3 separate regions of the Homo sapiens genome follow, and all the other regions are linked to region 1. The links are contacts of gene promoters, found by promoter capture Hi-C in blood cells and fetal thymus (Javierre and others, 2016). All regions are on one chromosome and are shown on one strand. Each heading gives the region's core, a stretch centred on a gene start or on the middle of the fragment in contact. The rest is flanking DNA. Distances are from core to core; before and after follow the strand shown. Region 1 holds the start of SURF4 (surfeit 4). Region 2 overlaps LOC105376306 (a long non-coding RNA gene). Region 3 overlaps RALGDS (ral guanine nucleotide dissociation stimulator).

What was found. The method cuts DNA at HindIII sites, captures the fragments that hold promoters and counts their contacts. A CHiCAGO score of 5 or more calls a contact.
Region 2: a contact is called between a fragment that was not itself captured here and the fragment with the promoter of SURF4 in region 1, in 2 of 17 cell types (naive CD8 T cells and total CD8 T cells). The highest score is 5.7, in naive CD8 T cells.
Region 3: a contact is called between a fragment that was not itself captured here and the fragment with the promoter of SURF4 in region 1, in 2 of 17 cell types (activated CD4 T cells and naive CD8 T cells). The highest score is 6.4, in activated CD4 T cells.

Annotation. Positions count from the first base shown.
Region 1 is chr9:133,374,810-133,377,806 of GRCh38, reverse strand. It overlaps SURF4 (surfeit 4), which reads left to right and starts at 1,747. Exons shown (of 6, transcript NM_033161.4): 1 at 1,747-1,885. The coding sequence starts at 1,838. STKLD1 (serine/threonine kinase like domain containing 1) reads right to left here and starts at 1,441. Exons shown (of 18, transcript NM_153710.5): 1 at 1,247-1,441. The coding sequence starts at 1,333. RefSeq lists silencers at 1,203-1,702, 1,793-2,032, 2,043-2,322. The HindIII fragment of the contact is 2,219 bases long and covers 487-2,705 here.
Region 2 is chr9:133,026,315-133,029,311 of GRCh38, reverse strand. It overlaps LOC105376306 (a long non-coding RNA gene), which reads left to right. Exons shown (of 2, transcript NR_135119.1): 2 at 881-1,160. Among named protein-coding and RNA genes, the nearest start is that of GTF3C5, 3.2 kb to the left of the region's middle. The HindIII fragment of the contact is 1,244 bases long and covers 796-2,039 here.
Region 3 is chr9:133,117,655-133,120,651 of GRCh38, reverse strand. The region is part of intron 1 of RALGDS (ral guanine nucleotide dissociation stimulator); the gene reads left to right. Among named protein-coding and RNA genes, the nearest start is that of RALGDS, 2.1 kb to the left of the region's middle. RefSeq lists an enhancer at 1-508. The HindIII fragment of the contact is 703 bases long and covers 1,247-1,949 here.

The sequences.
Region 1 (2,997 bases), core at 498-2,997:
AGAAATGAACTGCACACTAAGTGTAATGTGCTTGAATCATCCCAAAACCATCCTCCCGCCTCCATCTGTGGAAAAATTGTCTTCCACAAAACTGGTCCCTTGTGCCAAAAAGGTTGGGGACTGCTATTTTTTTTTTTCTTTCTGAGACAGAGTTTTGCTCTTGTTGCCCAGGCTGGAGTCCAATGGCGCTATCTTGGCTCACCACAACCTCTGCCTCCTGGGTTCAAGCGATTCTCCAGCCTCAGCCTCCCGAGTAGCTGTGATTACAGGCATGCGCCACCACACCTGGCTAATTTTGTATTTTTAGTAGAGACAGTTTCTCCATGTTGGTCAGGCTGGTCTTGAACTCCCGATCTCAGGTGATCCGCCCGCCTTGGCCTCCCAAAGTGTTGGGGATTACAGGCGTGAGCCACCGAGCCCGGCCAGGGACTGCTGTTCTAAGCCACAGCGGGCTGAGGGCAGAGCTGGTGTGAGAGCGTTCAAGCTTAGGCAGCAAATTAAACAGTAAAATGGAGCCGTATCTCGAATCAAGTCTATTTTTTTTTCCAAAAGCAGGTATATTCCTGAAACGTCTATTTTTTTTTAATCTGAAAAACAACTTTACTTTAAAAATTATCTGGCCACCAGAAGCTCATCTGCTTCACCTCTGGCAACGCCCTATAGTCCTCTCACACAAAGACAATTCTTCCAAAGTGACAAAAATCTAACCCGCAAACTGTTTCCAAGCGAATGCATTTTTCACAAATGCTGAATCTAACATTTAATAAAGTGTATATATCATGTATAGAAGCATTTAATTAAACATTTACTTTTATTTTGCAGCTTTCCTTTTGTGTTTTGTGAATTTTTTAGGTCTCAAACATTTTCACAGACCCACGCTGCAGGGGTGTTTTTAGGGGACTGGGGGCTCCCAATTATGTACTCGGGATGTTCCCGGGGGTCCTGCCTCGGTGGACCCAAGCGCACAGACCCCAGGCACGAAGGATAGAGGAGCTGCCCCACGCCCTCAAATACTCAGCCAGGGCTGGAGAATCCTTAGTCAATTCACAAAGGGGGAAACTGAGTGGCAAAGGGCACCCAGGAGGTCACCGTTGGAGGCCCCCCGGGTTCAACCTAGGAGCTGCAGGCCGACACTGGCCAGGGCGCGGGCCCCTCGCCGCCCTCGGTCGGAACCGCCGGCCGTAGCTCCAGGGTTGCGACCGTTACCCCACGGAGCTCCCGCCTCCCCGCAGGGAACACTCGGCACCTGGTACTTCTCCATGGGCTCTCCGGGGGACCCTGGGCCTCGCTCCCCCTGCGTGGGGCGCCTGCGATTGGACCCTGGCCCAAGCATGATCAGTAGCGACCGCGTACGGGCGAGCGTCCACCCCTGGCCCCACCCCGCGTGGGTCAGTGGGACCCGCGGGATCCTCCCCGCCCGAACGGCGCCCTCGAGGCACTCAGGCGTCCCTCCCGCGCGCTGGCCCCAGACCCCCAGGTCCCCGCCCCCTTAAAAGGGACGCGTTCCGCCGGGCCGGGAGGGACCGCAGGGCCTGCGCGCGGCGGGCGGGGCCTCCAGCGTGAGAGGCGTGGCGTCGAGCGCGGCGGGCGTGGCTTCGAGCGGATGGGTCGGGAGGCTGGGGATGGCGCGTGGCCCCTTTAAGACGCACCGGGGCGGGCCCGGGCGGCGCGCGGCCCCTTTAAGGCTTGGCCTACGTGGCAGCCGCTGGAGCCGCAGCCGACGCGGAGCGAGGCCGGCCGCCGGGCACTTCCTGTGGAGGCCGCAGCGGGTGCGGGCGCCGACGGGCGAGAGCCAGCGAGCGAGCGAGCGAGCCGAGCCGAGCCTCCCGCCGTCGCCATGGGCCAGAACGACCTGATGGGCACGGCCGAGGACTTCGCCGACCAGGTGCGGCCTGCGGGCTCCTCCCCCGGCCCCGGTCCCGACCCAGGCCGCCCGGGCCGCTCCGGAGTCGGCCTCCCAGCGCAGGGCGCCAGGCCCGGGCCGCCCCCTGACTCCTTGTTCCCACAGGGGGACCCCCCCGCCCGGGCCCTCTGTCCCGGCTGGACAGCCCCAAACCCGGCCTCCGGGCCCAGTCTCCCCTGCCCGCTGGGCCGCTCCCGGAGCCCGGGCCTCGGCGCCCTGCCTGGCTAGCCGCCCCCACCCTCCAGCCAGCCCGGGGCGCGGGCTGTGGGGGTTTCTTCCCGGGCCGGCGGCGCGAGTCCTGGCGTTGGGTCGGGTCTGAGGCTCGCGGGGAGCGCCTCGGCGTTTGGAGCTGCTGGGGGGTCCCCGCACGTTTTTCCTCTCACTGGGGCTCCCGGAGGCGGGCTGGGAGCTCGGGGACGAACGGGGGCCGGGGGTCCTCCCAGAGGAAAGGGGGCGCGCTGGCGTGCGCCCCAGCTACAGGAAGCCACAGCACCTTTTCCTTTTCTCTTTCCCAGATGTGCTGGACTCTTGGGGTCCCTTTGACCCTGTCTGCGTCTCCCTCCCCGTTTGGACTCTGCCCTGGGCTGGATTGAGTGGGGACCTGTACACAGCCTGGGAGGAGGGGAAGCCTATCTCCCTGATAGTCTCCTTCCAGAAGTGTCCAGGTGGCATTCTGAGCAACAGGGAAGCCTTTGAAACAGGCGGTTGGGTAACTGTTGAGAGCATTCGGGAACTGGGTGGACAGGATCCGATCCTACAAAGTGAAGGGACACAACTCCCTTCCCTCTTTCTTGATTAAGCTTGACAGAACAAAAAAACAAAAACAAAAGGTGGTGGTGGTTACGCAGATTTATGCCTTTTACTTCTAAAAGAATCCCGTTATGTCGACAAATTAACAGCCTTATCCCCGCAGGGAGAGCCTTGTGTGGCCCACTTGCCGTTTTTTCCTCGGTTTACTTAATGTGTTCGTGTGGCTTTGCTAGAGTTTTAAGTAGTGATGGTTAAATTTTTAAATTTTTCTGGAGGTGGTAGTGAGTCATCAAACTCTGAGGCCTAGACTTATCGGAAGGCTTGTATATGTGTGGTTTAAAAAA
Region 2 (2,997 bases), core at 168-2,667, 350 kb after region 1:
TGAGCCCTGGAGTTGGAGGCTGCAGTGAGCTATGATCATGCCACTTGCATTACAGCTAGAAATTAGTAAGAGCAAGTGACCCCTTGGGTATGGGTACCCCGTTTCTGAAGTGATTTTTTTTTTTGAAAGACACGATCTCCCTCTGTCACCCAGGCTGGAGTGTAGTGGTGTGATCATGGCTCACTGCAGCCCCGAACTCCTGGGCTCAAGTGATCCTCCTGCCTCAGCCTCCTGAGTAGTTGGGACTACAGGCGTGCACCACCATACCCGACTAATTTTGTATTTGTGTGTGTGTGGCGACGGGGTCTCACTATGTTGCCTAAAGTCATTTCTTTTTGTTGTTTGTTTGTTTTGAGACAGAGCCTCACTCTGTCACCAGGCTGGAATGCAGTAGCACAATCTCGGCTCACTGCAACCTCCGACTCCCTGGTATAAGCGATTCTCCTGCCTCAAACTCCCGGGTAGCTGGGATTATAGGCATGCGCCACCACGCCCAGCTAATTTTTGTATTTTTAGTAGAGATGGGGTTTCACCATGTTGGCCAGGATGGTCTCGATCTCCTGACATCATGATCTGCCCACCTCGGCCTCCCAAAATGCTGAGATTACAGGCGTGAGCCACCGTGCCCAGCCTGTGATTTCTTAATCAGAAGAGTACCTGATTGCTCTCCTTGGGTTTAAGAAGGCAGAATAAATAGCTACATGAATTCAGCCCACTGAATACATTCTAAAGTGTAACCTCAATGTGAAATATATTGTATTGTAATTGGAAGGCTGGGTCAGGAGCCCCAAAGCTTTGAAAGAACACCTCCTGAGAGTACAGTGGGAAATCAACCACCAGCAGATGATGGTTGAGCTAGAAGAACCACGTGTTTCCACAGGGAGCTGCACACGAGGACCCGGTGGTCCCTGACCTGCCCTCTCCAGGGGGGACCTGCACTTTCTGCCACCAAAGAGGATTCTCTGTAGGGAGGCCAGGATGATTCTCCAGAATTTACCATGCCTTGAGATGAAATTTCCTTTCAAACTTCCTTGTGTCCTTTTGTCCTCATTCCATGTTCACCAGTCTTCTGACTGTTTCATTTTCCAGAAAGGAGAAACTGAATAACATGTATATTTTAACCTTGCCTGCAATTGTAAATCAATAAATTGGTGTATTTACATCAGATCCCTGTGAGTTTGGTGCACATAAGACAGTCATGAAGACTTGGTCACTGTTGGTAGAGTTGGCCAATAAAATATTGAACACAGTTAAATTTGAATTCATGCAATATTTGGGGCATATTTATACTAAATATGTGTTATCTGAGATTCATATTTAGCTAGGTGATTTTTTAATTTGCTAAATATGGCACTCCCACCTCCGGGTATTGAGATTGAGTTTCTGAATTTGGAAAGCTGATTCCAAACCACCTGGAACCTTAGTGAGCCCACCATGCAATCCAGTGACCCTCTAGTTTGTCTGCTGTATTTTTCCTCCTTACTGAAGCAAGAGTGATCTTTCCAGAATGAGATCGCAGTCTGTCCCTGCCTCCAGTGACTCCCCAGCATCCCTGGCCCACCACCTGGCTAACTACTCCTCTCCTTTAGGTTGTTGCCTTAGACTTCAATTTGCCTGGTAAATCCTCCCTGACCCCAAAACACTAGTTTGGTGCCATCCTCGCTGCCCGGGGCCCCAAACCCACTGCATCATGGAGCCGGAAGCACTATTATTTTTTTTCTTTTTTACTTCTCCACTTGAGTGGCAACTTTCTGAAGACAGGGACCATGTCTGTCTTATTCACCACTGTCTTCCCACTGTCACCACTGCTTTGCATGGGGCTGAGCACCGAGCAGGTGCTCAGGAAGTATTTATTGAACAACTGAATGAGGCCACTTGTCTTATTTGAGCCTTCAATCGAGCCCCGGGTCAGGGCATGGTCATAGGGACACTAAATCAAGGCTTGTCAGACAAGGAGTGTCCCTTAGTGCACAGGAAGTGAGGAGGGGCTGAGTGTGAGGGGAAGACAAGGGACCAACCCCAGGGCATCAGACCAAGCTTTTTGAGATTAGACTTGGTCCTGCCTGAGATCCAAAGCGGGAGGTCAGAGGCAGGAGCAGTAAGGCAAGGCTGGGAGCAGAGACAGGCCAAGAAAGATCAGGAACCCAGTTAAAAAGTAGCTTTGGCTGGGAGCGGTGGCTCATGCCTGTAATCCCAGCACTTTGGGAGGCTAAGGCGGGTGGATCACTTGAGGTCAGGAGTTCGAGACCAGCCTGGCCAACATAGTGAAACCCCATCTCTACTAAAAATACAAAAATTAGCCACATGTGGTAGCACATGCCTGTAATCTCAGCTACTCGGGAGGCTGAGGCAGGAGTCTCGCTTGATCCCAGGAGGCAGAGGTTGCAGTGTGCAGAGATCATGCCACTGCACTCCAGCCTGAGTGACAGAGTGAGACTCCATCTCAAAAAAAAAAAAAAAAAAAAAAAAAGAAGTAGCTTTAACGTTCTCCAAAACCTTGCAGCATTCAGAGCAGGCAGCTGTGACAATATTTGTGCACTGAGGGGACACTTTCTCTGCCTGGATTCAGGGCATATGCTATGGTTTGAAAATGTCCCCCAAATTTCATGTGTTGGAAACTTAATTTGTCTGCCCTCATGAATAAATTAATGTTGGCTCTGCCCTCATGCATGGATTAATGTCGCTGTTGTGGGAGTGAGTTGCTTATCTCTTTGTTATAGAGGCAAGCTCTCTCCGGCTCTCTCTCTCCTGCCCTCTTGCATATGTGCCCTCCACCATGTTATGGCACAGCAAGAATGCAAAGACCCTTAGCAGATGCTGCCACCGTGTCCTTGAACTTCTCAGCTTCCAGAACTACAAGAAACAAATGTTTTTCCTGTAGGAATTACCCAGTCTGGGATATTCTGTTATAACAGCAGAAAACAGACTAACGCAGCATGCTTCTCGCATCTTGCCCTGCTGTGGGGTGGCAGATTTCATCCCACTGGACAGAAGGGC
Region 3 (2,997 bases), core at 349-2,848, 260 kb after region 1:
CATCGGTGGCCTGTGCCTTATTTCACTCAGTTCCCACCCAGGGCCCGCAGCGCGTCGTTAGCCTTTACGATGCAGGTGTGGAACAAGTGGTCGGGAAGGCCAAATCCTAGAATCCTCAGAGGTGATGAGACCATAGGGGCCTTCCAGACAGACCCTACTTGGGGCAGATGTGGATCTGGTGACCAGGGACATCGGGGCTGCTCAGAGCGGGGTGGGGGGGGGGTCGGGGGATGGGGTGGAGCAGCAGGCCTCCAACACGTGGGACCAGATGTCCTGGTGGTGAGGGGAGGAGGGTGGCCCAGGCCCAGGGCGGGCAAGACTTGTTTCTGCTTAACTGGAAAGAGTGCCAACACCCTGAATCGGTAAGGACTGGGTAGGATTCAGAGAAGGGAGTGGTGTACCTGTGATGGATGGAGGGGAGGGTGACTAGGTGAGGGCGGGGGCTTGTTTCTCGTGTGCCCTGGGTCTCTGGGTGGTGCCATCTGCCTCCCACCTGACTGCTGCTGACTACACAGCAGAGGGAGTGGAATCCAGAGATGCCCCCCTCGCCCTGCTCTGCCTGGGCACAGGGCCTGCACAGAGGCCATTCCTGGATCGGGGGCTCAGGGCCCATCAGAGCTTTGGCTGGGCTGCAGCCTTCACAGTGAACCTCCTGAGTCCCCGTGCGGCATCGTGTTGCCTTGCTGCGTCTCCAGTCGCTTCATGGCTTTAGACTGTGGCGCGTTGTGATTGCTGGCGATTGTTAGCCTGAGTCTCGTGCCTCTTGGTGTCCCGGTACCTAGACAGGGCCTGGATGCGACTTGTTTCTCCGCCCAGTGTTGGGCAGAGCTCTTGGTGGGGGAACACCACACGCCTGAGAGACCCTTTCCTCCTGAGCTTGGCAGATGGCCGGACCAGACGTGTTCCCTCAACCCTCATCTATCCAGGGCTCTGGTCCTCATTGGCGGCTGGAGAGGGACCCCTGGGAGGGTGGGGGTGGGAGGCTGACACCAGCCCAGCGCTCATCTGGCTTTCATTACCTCTGGCAGCAGCTCGGGCTTTGTGTGCTGGGAGGGTCCGGCGGAGCGCTCACAGTGGCCGTGCAGGTTCCCTCTCTCCGTCCCTGAGGAACTGAGGGAGAGGCAGAGCTGAGCCCCACCCCTGCCTGGGGGTCTTGTCTTCCCTCTCTCTGGCCCTGGCGCTCCTTGCCCAGCCTCAGCACTGAGATCCAGACCTCGACTGCTATTTAGAAATCAAAGGGGAAGCTTCTGGCTGGGTCAGGAAAACCAGGATCCTGGCAGGAGAGGAGGCCACTGCCGGAAACTGAACACAATGACCATTTACCAAGGGCCCAAGGGAGGGGGCGGGGAAGTCCCTGTCCCTCCTGCCAACACCCCCCGTCCTGGGGCTGGTTTCCTGGTGTCTATGTGGCCTGCCAGAGCTGACGCTGCGCACTTGGTCCCTGTCCTCTCTGGAAACCACCAGACAGTTTCTGCCTTCCCCCGCATCCCTGTTTCCCTACCTAGCTTCCACCCGGTGCTTCCCTCTGGGCTGCCAGATCTCCTCACATCTGGGCTTCCGCTTATCTTCCCGATTCTAAGCCAAGCCACCAATGACCCAGCTTGGCCTGCACAGTTCTTGCTTTCTGGAGGTGACCTGGTCCGTGCCCCCATCTCTGGACAGGCTGTTGCTTTGGCCAGACAAAAAGTGCAGGTTGTGGGCCACCCCCTCACTTCATCTGCCTTAGACCAACCCTACAGAGTAGGTGCCAACACCACCTTCTAGGAAGCTAGGGGGTCAGAGAAGGGAAGTCTCTGACCTAAACACCCGTGCAGCCAGCAAGGGCCGCAGCCAGGATTTAAGCATGGGCTGTGTTCTCTGTGGCACCTACTGTGTGCAGGAGCCACCAGGAGTCAGAGGAAGCCCAGGCAGCCCAGAAGCCCTGAGGTCAGGTGAGCAGTAGGGAAGCTTATGGCTCAGAGGAAGGCAAAAGTGCTTTGGGCCACAGGACGCTGGGGAGAGCTACCTGGAGGAAGCAAGCCCAGAACTGGACCCCACAGGTTTAAGATAACAGCTAATAAGAGCCAGCAGGTTTTGGGGAGGTCCTTGGCTAAGTAATTTGCATCATCTCCTTTTGGGGTCAAGACTGTTAAGAGCTCACTTGACAGATAAAGTCACTGAGGCAACAGAGGTGAATTAGATTGCACAGAGTGACCAAGCTGGTCAGTGGCAGGGCCAGGATTCTGACCCAAGGCCTGAGGGCAGTTGCAGGTGGGCTGGAGTGAAGAGGGCTTCTCTGTATTCACAGGGAGCATCTCCCTTCAGCCTCCCGCGTCTTCCCACTGTTTGATCTCTTGATCACACTGTGTGCAGGTCTTCGGTTTAATCCCCAGGGCTCATGAGCACTTTGACACTGAAGACCCCAAGGCAAAGGGCCTGTCCCTGTGTGGGTGTGTGTCCCTGCATGCATGTGTACAGACTGTGGTCTTCCAGGAGAGCTTCCTGGGTGACTCTGAAGGGGCAGCCCCCAGGACCCTCAGGTTCCCCTCTTGCTCTACTCGGGAGGGTCCCCCAGAAGAGGGGGACCAGGCTGGCTGGTCCTGGGTCTTTGTTCCTTCTCCAGGCGGGGGATGCTCAGGCATGCTGGCCTGTTTCCCGGGAGGCTCAGGAATGGCCCTGGGAGATATCAAGCTGCTCGTTGCCAGAGCTGGGGTCTGATTCTTAACCTGGAAATTGGGCATTTCCAGGACCTGTCTGCGTTGCCAATGAGAAAAGAGTGGGGAGATTTATCACTGGCCCTCTGCAGGCAGGCTCTGAACGAGCCAGTGGAGCGGTTTCAGGAAGCTGCACCCAGGCAGTCAAGGACTGGTTCCCAAGAGCTGCTGGTTGGCCGCCCAGATGGCTCCCATGGCGTGGTGCCACCATGCTGTGGCCACCCAGTCCCAGGGTTGGACTTCCAGCCTTGCAGGCCCAGAATCACTGTGTTCCCAGATATACAGCAACAGCAGAGCAGTGTTC